Regions from separate parts of the Homo sapiens genome. Here region 2 is linked to region 1. The links are contacts of gene promoters, found by promoter capture Hi-C in human tissues and cell types (Jung and others, 2019). All regions are on one chromosome and are shown on one strand. Each heading gives the region's core, a stretch centred on a gene start or on the middle of the fragment in contact. The rest is flanking DNA. Distances are from core to core; before and after follow the strand shown.

Region 1 (6,192 bases), core at 3,295-5,794:
GAGCTTGTCACTTTAAGTAAACAAGTCACATTTGTTGCCAATGATAAAATTTGAGCTTTCAAGCAAAAATCCGAATTCTGGAAAACTCATATCCACCATTGTCATGTCAAGACCTAAACAGCTTCCCAATAATTTGTCTCTAACAAAATGGGTGGTGATATTAACAACCATAACTTTCTTTAATATTGCATGATGAAAGATGTCAACATTTGGAAGATCTGCATAACACTGAACCAATATTTACAAATGACCAAGGAATGATGTTACAATCTCAGGAATGAGTATAAGACCCATTCAAAGTTCCAACCAATGGGTTTTACTAGAGCATGCAAAAATCCACTTACTGGATTTCTCACGGCATCTAACCTTTAAGAAATTGCCACTTACTGAGTTTTAATATAATACCAAACAAGAATGTCCACAATTATCGGAAAAGGCTATTAAAATGCTCCCTCCCCGGCCTCCCCACCCTGTTTAGCCATTAACTATGTGAGACTGGATTTTCTCCATATGTATTTCAACCCAAACAACATATTGCAATAGACTGGATGCAGGAGCAGATATGATAATCCAGCTGTTTCCATTAAACCAGACAGATTTACAAAAAAAGTAAAACAATGCCACTTTTCTCACTACCTTATTTTTTGTTTTAAAAAAAAGTTGTTTTCATTAAAAATAGGGTGTTTATATTAACATGTAAAGAGTTTATAATTGTCATTTTAAGTGAACTGACAATTTATATTTCCCTTTTCATTTACAATACAGTAAACATAGATAAATTCACAAAAGCTTTTTGGGGATCCTCAACAACTTTTAACAATGTAAAAGGGTCCTAACCAAAAGTTTGAAAGCATTTAGAGTTTTAATATTAGATCCCTGCAAACCAAGAACAAGTATGTAAAATCATACTGGAGGGAAAAAAAAAGTTCCTAGGAAAATTATATGAAAGCTGAAAATGAACACAATGTCAAATCAAAACTGATTTCACACTATATAATATCAATAAAAAAGAAAATGCTTAGATAAAAAAGAATGCTTAAAAAAATTGATTTTGTGTGCCCTGGAAACAACATACAATATTCTGATCAAATAAACAAGTACATACCTACCAATATTTTGACAGATCACATTTTTGATAGCGGCACATTATAGTCAAAGAAACACCCAATCACAAACTCAAAAACAGATGATTAAAAGATTAAAATAGCAGCCATCACCAACAGGAGGGAGACAATCCAAGGTTCTGTCAGAAGGGACAAACGGATTTATCAACAGCTCTCCAGTAGCATCCCAGGGCACCCAGCTCAGGGTCTAGCTGTTCTATTTAAAACTGACTTACATGTTTCCAAGGCAGGAGGCAGGACAGTGAGACTAAGCTCTCATTTAACCCCAAAGGAGCAAATGGGTCATAGTGGAATTAATCTGCACTAATACTGCTCCATCCCCCAAAAGTCCTTTTTCTGCTTACTAGATCCCTTTGAAGACTGAGGAAGAGCAACGGTAATAATAGCAATATTTACTGGGCACTTACTACATGCCAGGCACTGTGGGCTAAGCACTTTACTTGTATTAATCACTTAATATTTGAGAATATCTTAAGAGTATACACTAATATTATGTCATTTTTGGAGCTGAGAAAATTAAAGTACAAAAAGGACAAATAACTTGTCTTAAAAAAATAAAAATAAAAATAACTTGCCTAAAGCAAAGCCAGGACCCAAACCGAGCCATCTGGCTCTGAGGCCCAACTCCTTAGCCACTACACCATAGTACACAGGCACAGTAATCAACAATAACATCTGAAGTTTAAAATTCAGTGCCCACCCTACAAAATTTATGTTGTTTATACTGAAACCCATTGCCTAAGGAAAGCTCCCATCTTGCAGATGGCCCTCTGACAGGTGCATCCATTGCTATTCACGCACTGTTCAACTTTCAGATAGTGGGGGACTTCAAGCAAGAAAAGCAGATTTGGGAAGATGAATACTTTGGATGAGGTTTAAAAAAATTCAGGCCAGGACGGGCGTGGTGGCGGACGCCTGTAATCCCAGGACTTTGGGAGGCCGAGGTGGGCAGACCACCTGAGGTCAGGAGTTCAAGACGAGCTTGGGTAACATGGTGAAACCCCGTCTCTACTAAAAACAAAAACTTAGCCGGGCGTGGTGGTGTGCTCCTGTAATCCCAGCTATTCGGGAGGCTGAGGCAGGAGAATCGCTTGAACCCGGGAGGCAGAGGCTGTAGTGAGCCAAGATCGTGCCACTGCACTCCAGCCTGGGCGACAAGAGCGAAACTCCGTCTCAAAAAAAAAAAAAAAAAAATTCAGGCCAAGCTTGGTGGCTCACGCCTGTAATCCCTGCACCTTAAGAAGCTGAGGCTAGTGGATCACCTGAGGTTGGGAGTTCGATACCAGCCTGGCCAACATGGTGAAACCCGTCTCTACTAAAAACACAAAAATTAGCTAGGCGTGGTGACGCGCGCCTATAATCAAGAAGCTGAGGCGGGAGAATCGCTTGAACCCGGTAGGGGCAGGTTGCAGTGAGCCGAGATCGCACCACTGGCACTCTAGCCTGGGCGAGAGAGTGAGACTCCGTCTCAAAAAAAAAAAAAAAGTAAAATACAAATTACAAAATTTCATAACTGTTGGACCTCTTTTCCTTCTGCTAATGGAAGTAAAACCATTATTATATAGCAGCCTAGCCAGACTTTTCTAAAGAGAAGAATGCCTCAATTCGGAAAAGCTTTATAAAAATTGCTTCTACAAAAGTTTAATTAATAGATTTAAATGCTTTGCAATGTTGGCCAAATACGAGGGTAGTTTTAAGCCTATCCACTTCATTTCCGAGTTCAGAGTGAGTCTGCAGTTGTAATTATGTGATTAATCAATTCAAGGCAGAGTTTTGTGATCATTAAAAATGAACCTGTAACTTCACCATAGAATTTAACTTAAGAGAAGTGGAATGGGAAAAAGAGCAAGTCATATTAGAACTCTGCCTGCATGATGAGAAACAGTGGGTAAGGCACGACTTATTATTTCGCAGTAATTCTACATAGGAAATACAGATCTTTCAGAGTTTTGTTTGGTTTTGACATTTGGCACATGTTTTAAAATAAGCACCATTTAAAGTTCCTTAAATAAATCATTTCTTTTTTGGCCTACTGAACTAAAAACATTCCACAATACAATTACAAAAATAACTTTCCGGTTTTCTCAGACAACCAGTTTATAAGAATAATTCAGAAGTTCACAAAGGATAATTTGATTTACATAAAGCTTAAAAAACGGACATAAAAGGTAAGTGAAAATGACCGATTAAGAAGACTGTTAAGGTCCTTTCTAACTACAAATTGTCATGCATTGTAATTAAACACAACTACAATGTTAAACACCTGAAGGAAAAAACCCACATAGAATTAATACTGCCAAAGAAAATTTCCGCTATCTTCAGGCACTTGAGTAAGCTATGTTAAAACGGGAAATGGGCTTTAAATTATCAACATTCACATCGATTACACTATGATGCATGAAAACTCCATTCTACAATGAGTAAACGCCCAAGAAAGGAACCCAACCAACTCCAATTGCCCTGGTGCTCGTAAGAGGTTTATACCGCACAAGGGGTAAAACAACGGTAGAGTCGAGCAAGCCTTTGGGTTACAACAGTCCTTGAACACTTGCAATTGAGAACCCGCAATTCAGGAAGGAAGACACTAAGGAAACTCTGCACTGTCATCCAGGGTGATCTGATTCAGGTTCAAACCAAACGCTCAAGGCGACAAGTTGTAAACAGAAGACACACTTCAGCTCAAACCACCCAGCGAGAGGAAGCAAACGTGCCCATCGCCGATGTCACAGCAAATCCCACCTTGCTGGCGCTCAGTCGGGAACGCTAGAATTCTCGAAGCACAGGGGCCCGCGATTCAGCGGCCCGCTACCACTGGGGCGGGGGAGAGCGGGGCTGGGCGCGCCCGCCCCCGGCCCTGCAGCCCCTCGGCTGGACTCCCCGCGGCGCCGCGAGCTCGGGCCCGAGAGAAAGGGCTGAGCAGAAAGGGCGGCCTCCGCCCAGAGACCGCGCCCGATACCCTCCGCAAGGTCTGGGACGGGGATCCACCGAGGGTCCGGGGACTGGGGAAGGCGTTTTCCAGACCCAGTCAAAGCCCCACCCCGTCAGGGCTTTCCCTCAAGACCGAGTGCGTTCCCCTCACGCGTCACATGTGTAACATGCGTTACACAACCCGTCAGGTAAGGGGCGCAGGGATCCGGGGTCGCCCCTCCTACCCCCGGGCGCCGTCGCTCGCATCTCCCGCGGCCCGGGGAGAGCAGAGGGACGGCCGGCCGGGACATGAGGACTGCAGCAGGGCGCTCACCGGCTCAGGATGGGGCGCTGGCGGGGACCGCGCAGAGCCGCAGCACCCGGCTCAGCACCTGGATCACGGCGGATCCCTCGCCGCCCGCCGCCCGGTGTTTTCATACAAACCCCGGTGGCAGGCGAGGCGGAGGCGGCGGCGGCGGCAGCTGCGGCGGCGGCGCTGGAGGCGGCGGAACCTGTCCGCATCCCGGGCAACGTCAGCGCGGCGCCCCGCCCACCGCACGCCTTGCCAGCCGGCTCCCAGCACGCGCAGGGAGTGGGGGCGGGGCGTGCGAGGCCGCGAAAGGGGCGGGGCGGAGCGCACGCCCTCTTCCCGCCGCGTCCCTTGTTACCTCCGTGCGCGCTGCGCCCCGCCTCTCTGCGCGCCTGACGGGAGGGAGCGCGCGCGTGGGGGCGGAGCGCGCACGGGAGCGGGAATTAGGGGCGGGTGTTCCGCGCGCTGCCGGTCCCTTGTACCCAGCAGCCCCGGCCACCGCCCCTCCGTACCGAACTGCGAGCGACTCCCCACGTTCTTCAAGTCATCTTTCTGTACACTCCCAACGAGGGCCCCAGCCTTTTCCCGGAACTAAGCCCGCGCCCACCCCCTCCCCCGCCATCAATCAGTCACTTTCTTAGGAAGGGTTCTTAAAGCTCCCCACGTGATCCCGGGGTCGCATCAAACGCTGGGGACTGCGGTAAAGCTTAGACCTTTCCTGACCTCAAGGAGGGTCCATAATAAGAGGCTGGAAGGGACATGCTGTTACTACAATCGGGCTCCCAGAAAACAACAGGATTGCACCTTGTGGCCAAATCTCAGTAAATTAGATGCCTAGTGCTGCAGCGAACAAAATAGCATGCTGATTTACTGTTTTTTGAAAAAGTGCCTGCATATAATCAAAACGGTAATGCTAAGTTGGCTACTGAAGGCAAAGGCGGAATGTTTTATCTGAGCCAAAGTAATGTGTCAGAGAAATTACTAATACACCCCCTTCTGTTTTGACTGTACTTCAGTGTACTGCAATGTATTGCAAATAAATACTGACATCATTTACTTTTTCACGTTGCACAAGAACATGTTTGCTACTGTTTATGGTAAGGAATGTAATATCACAACTAGATAAGGGAATGCATTGAGAACTGTGAGATTTTTGTTTTGTTTTATGATCTTGTTCAAATAAAATTAAGCAGGTGTGAAAGCAATTCAAAAAGTAACCCAAGGTACACCACAGTGCTTCTTACAGTTTGCCCTTGGTAGATGTCTTTATTCAGATGAACAAGAAACTGCCATTTTATAAACATCGTAGTTTCCCTCATCGTGAGCACTAAAAGATAGGTTACGGTATTTAAAATAATTTTGAAACAACCACCACCCCAAACCACCCAATCAGAAACGTATTATCTGAAAATACCCAATAATAATGTAATAATTTTACAATAATGCTAAATATGTATGTAATATACCTGAAACTTTTCTTAAAGAACATGTTTCTAAATGAGTCAACCTGCAATATAGGAAGATATTATGTGGATGTGTGTGTTTGTGGAATTTGAATCCCACTTTCACAAGCACTGTTAGCATAGTTTGATGACCACAACACAGACCCAGGAGATTAACCCACACAAGATAAATAGCAGCATTACATAGCTTTGAAATGATTCCAATCACATAGTTTGCCACAAGAGTGAGTGATTTATGTTTTGCGGTAATTAAGAACTTAGAGCTACTCCCCCACCCCCTGGGAATGTGACATCACTCTTCATCAGATCCCACGTGTATGAAGTTGAAATAAACTTCACCTCTCCTAGCTAATGTGACGTTACACCTTATCAAACACCATATATATGT
Region 2 (6,493 bases), core at 604-3,103, 1.1 Mb before region 1:
GCTGTAACATTGCCACCTCAATAAAGCTGTTTTCTTCTACCACCAACTCGTTCTTGAATTCTTTCATGAGTGAAACCCAGAACTTTTCTGGGCTAATTCCCAATTTGGGGCTTGACTGCAACAATTTGGTTAATCACCTGCAGAGGTCTGATATAATATAGTGCTTGTGGGTCTTTAAGTACATGGCACCATGTAGTTAAAAAGTGCATGGCCATAAAACTGTTCTTTGCATGAACTGTGATTGTCAATTGCGTTGAACTGGGAACACTTGACTGTCACAATAAATATGGGCAGAGTAGCACTGAAACATCATACTATACTTGTTCATTGAAGCATAAGTAAACTTCTTTGTAACAACTGAAGTTCTTTTGTGATGTGGTACTGTAATAGACTTCCCAGTCTGCAGAAAGGAAAGACAAGAAGAAATGGAAAGAAATAACTTTCTTCTAAAGAAATAATATTGAAATTGTACACATCACCTCCACTTAAATTCTCTGGTAAAAACTTAGTCAAATGGCCACACCTTTACTTCAAAAGAAGTTGGGAAATATAGTTGTTGACTGGGTGCGATCAAGTGTTCTATTACTCAAGAGAAGAATGGGAGAATGGACACTGGGGTTGTGGGACAATTAACAGGATTAAGTAATTGATTAAGCCATAATAGTTAAACCTTGACAAAACAGGACAACACGGGAGCAGGTATGGGTATTGACCTAGACTACCAACATGAACTAAGAAAATAATCCGGAGCTGACCACGAAACCTCGTCAGATGGATGGCCTGCAACTTAGATTTAAGGATCACCCACATGCCCGTGACTCCAGTTTTCTGAGGCTCTGTTGAATTTTCTCCATATGCTCTTCCTTTTAGGTGTTCATAAAAACTTTATAAGTCTGTGTTGACTTAGTATGTGCTGTGTATGACTAAAAGTACAAAAGTGGAAGATTTGGACACAGAGAAGAAAGGAAGTGGGATGAAACCTTGGGTTTGGCTGTGGTTCAGAGTGACCAGGTAGCATACAGTTCACAGACCATCTTAGGCAGAGGTGGGGAAAAGTGAGACCTTTACTCAGAGTTGGAGGATGTTAGGTAGAAAACAGTAGGAAACTGTATAAACTTCAAAAGAGGATGTTGGGGTGACAGGGAGCAAGTGTGGTGCTAATCATGAATATCAGCCTTTGGTTCCATGTGACCTGTGTTGAGTCCTCCATGCTCAAATACTCCCTCTTTTATGGTTGCCATGGTACCTGAAATTCCTTTGGATTACATCTTTTTCCCAGTGTCCTCCACTAAAATACAGACATTCTTGGGAAAATGAAGTGTCTGATGATGAACATTATTTGGATTGTGAACATGCTTGTAGATTCTGTTCCTTCCACTGACGGGAAGGACTCTAGAAATAGGATAACACCGGATCTAAAGGGGAAGAGGCAACGCAAAGAGGAAAATTAGGCATGGTATGGGTAAGGAGGCTGTAAGTTCCAAATAAGTATTCACAGGTTTCCTGGTCTTTTCTCCTCTTACCTCAAACTACCTCTCTATTTCCTCTAAGTTACTAATGTCGTGATTTGGTGTAAATACTTCTCTGTTTTTCTCCATAGTCAAACAAAACATATTCACAAATACTGGCTTTCTTTGTAGGCTCAGACTACATATTGTCATGTGAGATGCATTATTAATATATTGTGGATATGCCTCCAAGTCAATCTATATGAAACTCTTTTTTTCTTTTTTTTTTTTTTTTGAGACTGAGTTTTGCTCTTGTTGCCCAGGCTGGAGTACAGTGGTGCGATCTCGGCTCACTGCAACCTCTGCCTTCTGGTTTCAAGCGATTCTCCTGCCTCAGCTTCCTGAGCAGCTGGGATTACAGGTGCCTGCCACCATCCCCAGCTAATTATATATTTTTAGTAGAGACGGGGTTTCTCCATGCTGGCCAGACTGGTCTCAAACTCCTGACCTCGTGGTCTGCCTGCCTCAGCCTCCCAAGGTGCTGGGACTACAGGCATGAGCCACCACACCCGGCCCTATAAAACTCATCTTTAATTAGGCATGTACTGATGTAAAGAATAGAAGTACAGATCTGTATTCACTTAATGATGGAGACACATTCTGAGAAAGATGTCAGGTGATTTTGTCGTTGTGTGAACATCACAGAGTACACTTACACAAACTTAGGTGGTAGAGTCTACTATACACCTCAAGTATACATTATGGCCTATTGTTTCCAGGATACAAACCTGTACACTACGTTGCTGTACTGAATATAATAAGTAATTATGGCACAATTGTGCGTATCTAAGCACAGAAAAGGTGCGGTAAAAAGAGAGTATAAAAATAAAAAATGGTACTCCTGTAAAGGGCATTTACCATGAATGGAGCTTGCAGGACTGGAAGTTGTTCTGGGTGAGTCAGTGAGTGAGTGGTGAATGGATATGAGGGCCTAAGACATTACTGTGCACCACTATAGACCCTATAAACACTGTACACTTAGGCTACATTACATTTACAAAACATTTTCCTACAATAATATATTAACCTTAGCTTCCTCTGTTTTACTTTATACATTTTCTAATTTTTTAACTTTTTGACTCTTTTGTAATAACACTTAGATTAAAACACAAATACATTTTTGTACAGCTATACAAAAATATTTGCTTTCTTTATATTCTTATTCTGTAAGCTTTTTTCTATTTTTAAAATGTATCATTTTTTAAACCTTTTTTGTTAAAAACGAACACACAAACATCTACATTAGCCTCAGCCTAGAGAGGGTCAGGATCATCAATATCACTGTCTTCCACTCCACATCTTGTCCCACTGGAAGATCTTCAGGGGCAATAACATTCATGTCATCTCTGATGATGATAATGCTTTCTGCTGGAATACTTCCTGAAGGATCTGCCTGAGGCGGTTTTACAGTTGACTTCTTTTTTTAGTAAGTAGAAGGCACTAAACATGGTGGCTCACACCTATAATCCCAGCACTTTGGGAGGCCGAGGCAGGCAGATCATGAGATCAGGAGATCAAGACCATCCTGGCTAACACGGTGAAACCCCATCTCTACTAAAATGCAAAAAATTAGCCAGGTGTGGTAGCACGCACCTGTAATCCCAGCTATTCGGGAGGCTGAGGCAGAGGAATCGCTTGAACCCGGGAGGCGGAGGTTGCAGTGAGCTGAGATGGGCCACTGCACTCCAGCCTGGGCAACAGAGTGAGACTCGGTCTCAAAAAACAAACAAATAAACAAACAACAAAAAAAATTAGAAGGAGTACACTATAAAGTAACAACAAAAGCTAAAGTATAGTAAATACATAAACCAGTAACATAGTCATTTATTATCATTATCAACAATTATAGATGTACTATACATAATTTTACACACTATACTTTTATACAAATGACAGTGTAGTAAGTTTGTTTACTCCAATGTTAACCACAAACAGGTGAGTAATCCCTTGCACTACAATATTAAAATGGCTACAATGTCACTAGAAGATAGAAAATTTTCAGCTCCATTATAATCTTATGGGCCCACCATGGTATATGTAGTCTATTGTCGATGGAAGCATCATAATGGGACACGTGACTGTATTATAATTTATTGACTTGTTCCACTATTAATGGACATTCAGGTCCTATTTTTAGGTATGGGCCACTGTGTCTTCTATTTATTAAATTATGGTTTCCCCAGACTTTTTCAAAGTGTAAAAGAAATTACAGAGTAGGTACTTCTAAAACTAGAACATTACAGAATCTGAGTTTATTTAAAAATCTCCAAACTTTATAATAGCATTCTAAAATTGGAGGTTCTAAAGGAACTCCAGCAGAACAAGAAGTTGATGATTGGAGGATCTAGGTCAGCATTTCTCTTTTGTTTTTAGAAACAACTTTATGGAGGTATAATTGCTAATAAGCTAAACATTTAATAAGTTGATCAGATCGAAACCATCACCACAATCCATCCATCATCATAAAGTTTCCTTGTGTCCTTTGTCATTGCTCCCTCTGGCTCCTCCCTGCCTACTTCTCTCTTTCCTCGCCAGCAGTCACTGAGTTATTTTCTGTCACAATCTATTTGTTTGCACTTTTTTTTTGCATTTTTGTTGCATTTTCTTGAGTTTTATGATCCCATACAGTATGTACTCCTTTTTATCTGATGTTTTCACTTAGCATAATTATTTTGAGATTCATGCATATGACTGCAAGCTTTGTTCATTTCTTTTCATTGCTGAGTAGCATTCTGTTGTATGGGTATGCCACAATCTGTGTATTCATTCGCCTGTCAATGAATATTTGGATTATTACAGTTTTTACATATAAAGATAAAGCTGCTATGAACACTCACGTTCAAGTCTTTGTATGGACATATGCTTTCCTTTCTTTTAGGTAAGTATATAGAAGTAGAATGGTTGGATCACCTGGTAAGTATACGTTTAACTTTTGAAGAAACTTCTGCATTTCCAAAGTGGCCATACAATTTTACACTCCCAGTAGCAGTGTATGAGAGTTCCAGTTGCTCCACATTCTGGTCAACACTTGGTATGGTCAGTTTTTAAAAATTGTAGCCATTCCATGGGTGGATCACGAGGTCAGCAGATTGAGACCATCCTGGCTAACACGGTGAAACCCGGTCTTTACTAAAAATACAAAAAATTAGCCCGGGTGCGGTGGCGGATGCCTGTAGTCCCAGCTACGTGGGAGGCTGAGGCAGGAGAATGGTGTGAACCCAGGAGGCGGAGCTTGCAGTGAGCCGAGATTGCCCCACTGCACTCGGGCCTGGGCAAAAGAGTGAGACTCCATCTCAAAAATAAATTAAATAAATAAATAAATAAATAAATTTTTAGCCATTCCAATTAGTGTGTAGCTATCTCATTGTGGTTTTAATTTGCATTTCCTCAATGACTAATGCTGTTGAGCATCTTTTCATGTGCTTACATGCCAACTGCATATTTTCTTTGGTAAAGTATATGTTCAACACATTTACACACTTTTAAAATGTTGTTTATTATTATTCAGTTTTGAGAGTTCTTTATATACTCTGATATGACTTTATCAAATGTTCAGATATTTCTTACATTTTGTGGCATTTTTTTTCATTCTATTAGTGGTATCTGTTGAAAAGCAGAAATTGTTAATCTTTATAAAATCCAATGTATCTATGTTTTTCTATTTATGGGCTGTGCTTTAATTCTAAGTATTTTGTATTTTTGATTGGCTATTGTAATTTGTAGTTTTTAAAAAATTAATTCATGATTGTTGCTAGTATATAGAAATATATCTGATTTGTAAATAGTTATCTTGTATTATGCAAACTTGATAATTCATTTATTAGTATAAGTAGCTTTTTCATAGATTCTATTAAATTTTCTATACAGGACTCAACGTTGTATGTTTTAAAAAAGAACAGTCTAATTCTTCTTTTCCAATCTGAATACCTTTTATTTCTCTTTTTTTGACTTATTGAACTAACTAAAATCTTCAATGCAATATTGAGTAGAAATGGTGAAAGTGGATTTCCTTGTCTTTTAACTGCTTTTTGGAAAAACATCCCCTACCCCCACTACACTTTCTAGACTCTGGTAACCCTCATTCTCCCTCTGCCTCCATGAGGTCAACCCTCTGCCCCCATGAGATCAACTTGGATTCATGAGACAAACTCCACTTACTCATGATGTTTTTGGATGTGCGATGTATTGTTGAAATCAATTTACTGAAATTTTGCTTAGAATGTTAGCACTGACATTAATAGGAACTGTTGTTTTCTTTTCTTGTAATGTTTTTGTATATCAGTATCAAGGTAATGCTGGCCTCATAAAATGAATTGGAAAGTATTTCTTCCTCTTCATTTTTCTAGAAGAGTGTGTATGAAATTGGTATTCTTTTTCCTTCATTGTTTTGTAGAATTCACCAATGAAGCCATCTGGGAGTGGAGTTTTCTTTGTGGAAAGTTTTAAACCAGACATTCAAGTTTTACAATAGATATAGGATTATTTAGGTAATCTGTTTCTTCTATAGTGAGTTTCATTGGCTTTTTATCTCTCATAGAATATGTTCATTACATTTAAGTTGTTAAATTTATTTGCATAAAGTTGTTCACAATATATCCATAGTATTTAATATCTATGAAATATTCAGTGTTTTAATTGCTCTCATTACTGTTATTGGTCCTTTGTGTTTTCTCTTTTTTATTTCTGATCAGTTGGACTAGCTGTTTTTATTGATCTTCACAAAGAACCAGCTCTTGATTTAATTAATTTTCTCTATTGGTTTTATGTTTTCTATTTCATTATTTTCCACTCTGCTCTGTATTATTTCTTCTCTTCTGCTTACCTCGTGTTTAATTTGTTCTTTTTTTCCCTCTGATTTCTTAAGGTGGAAGCTGAGGTCATTGGTTAGAGATCTTTCTTCTTTCCTGATACAGGAATTTAGTGCTATAAAATTCCCTCTAAAAACTGCTTTAGTTGTATCACACAAATTCTGATACATAGTGTTT

The links. Contacts are between HindIII fragments. The study calls those that stand out against the background at their distance.
Region 2: a fragment that was not itself captured here is called in contact with the fragment with the promoter of AGTPBP1 in region 1 in 1 of the 25 tissues and cell types used here (dorsolateral prefrontal cortex).

Annotation. Positions count from the first base shown.
Region 1 is chr9:85,737,410-85,743,601 of GRCh38, forward strand. It overlaps AGTPBP1 (ATP/GTP binding carboxypeptidase 1), which reads right to left and starts at 4,545. Exons shown (of 26, transcript NM_001330701.2): 1 at 4,366-4,545. RefSeq lists an enhancer at 3,559-3,708 and silencers at 3,879-4,198, 4,269-4,868. The HindIII fragment of the contact is 2,695 bases long and covers 3,005-5,699 here.
Region 2 is chr9:84,659,655-84,666,147 of GRCh38, forward strand. No RefSeq gene overlaps it. Among named protein-coding and RNA genes, the nearest start is that of NTRK2, 6.8 kb to the right of the region's middle. The HindIII fragment of the contact is 3,178 bases long and covers 265-3,442 here.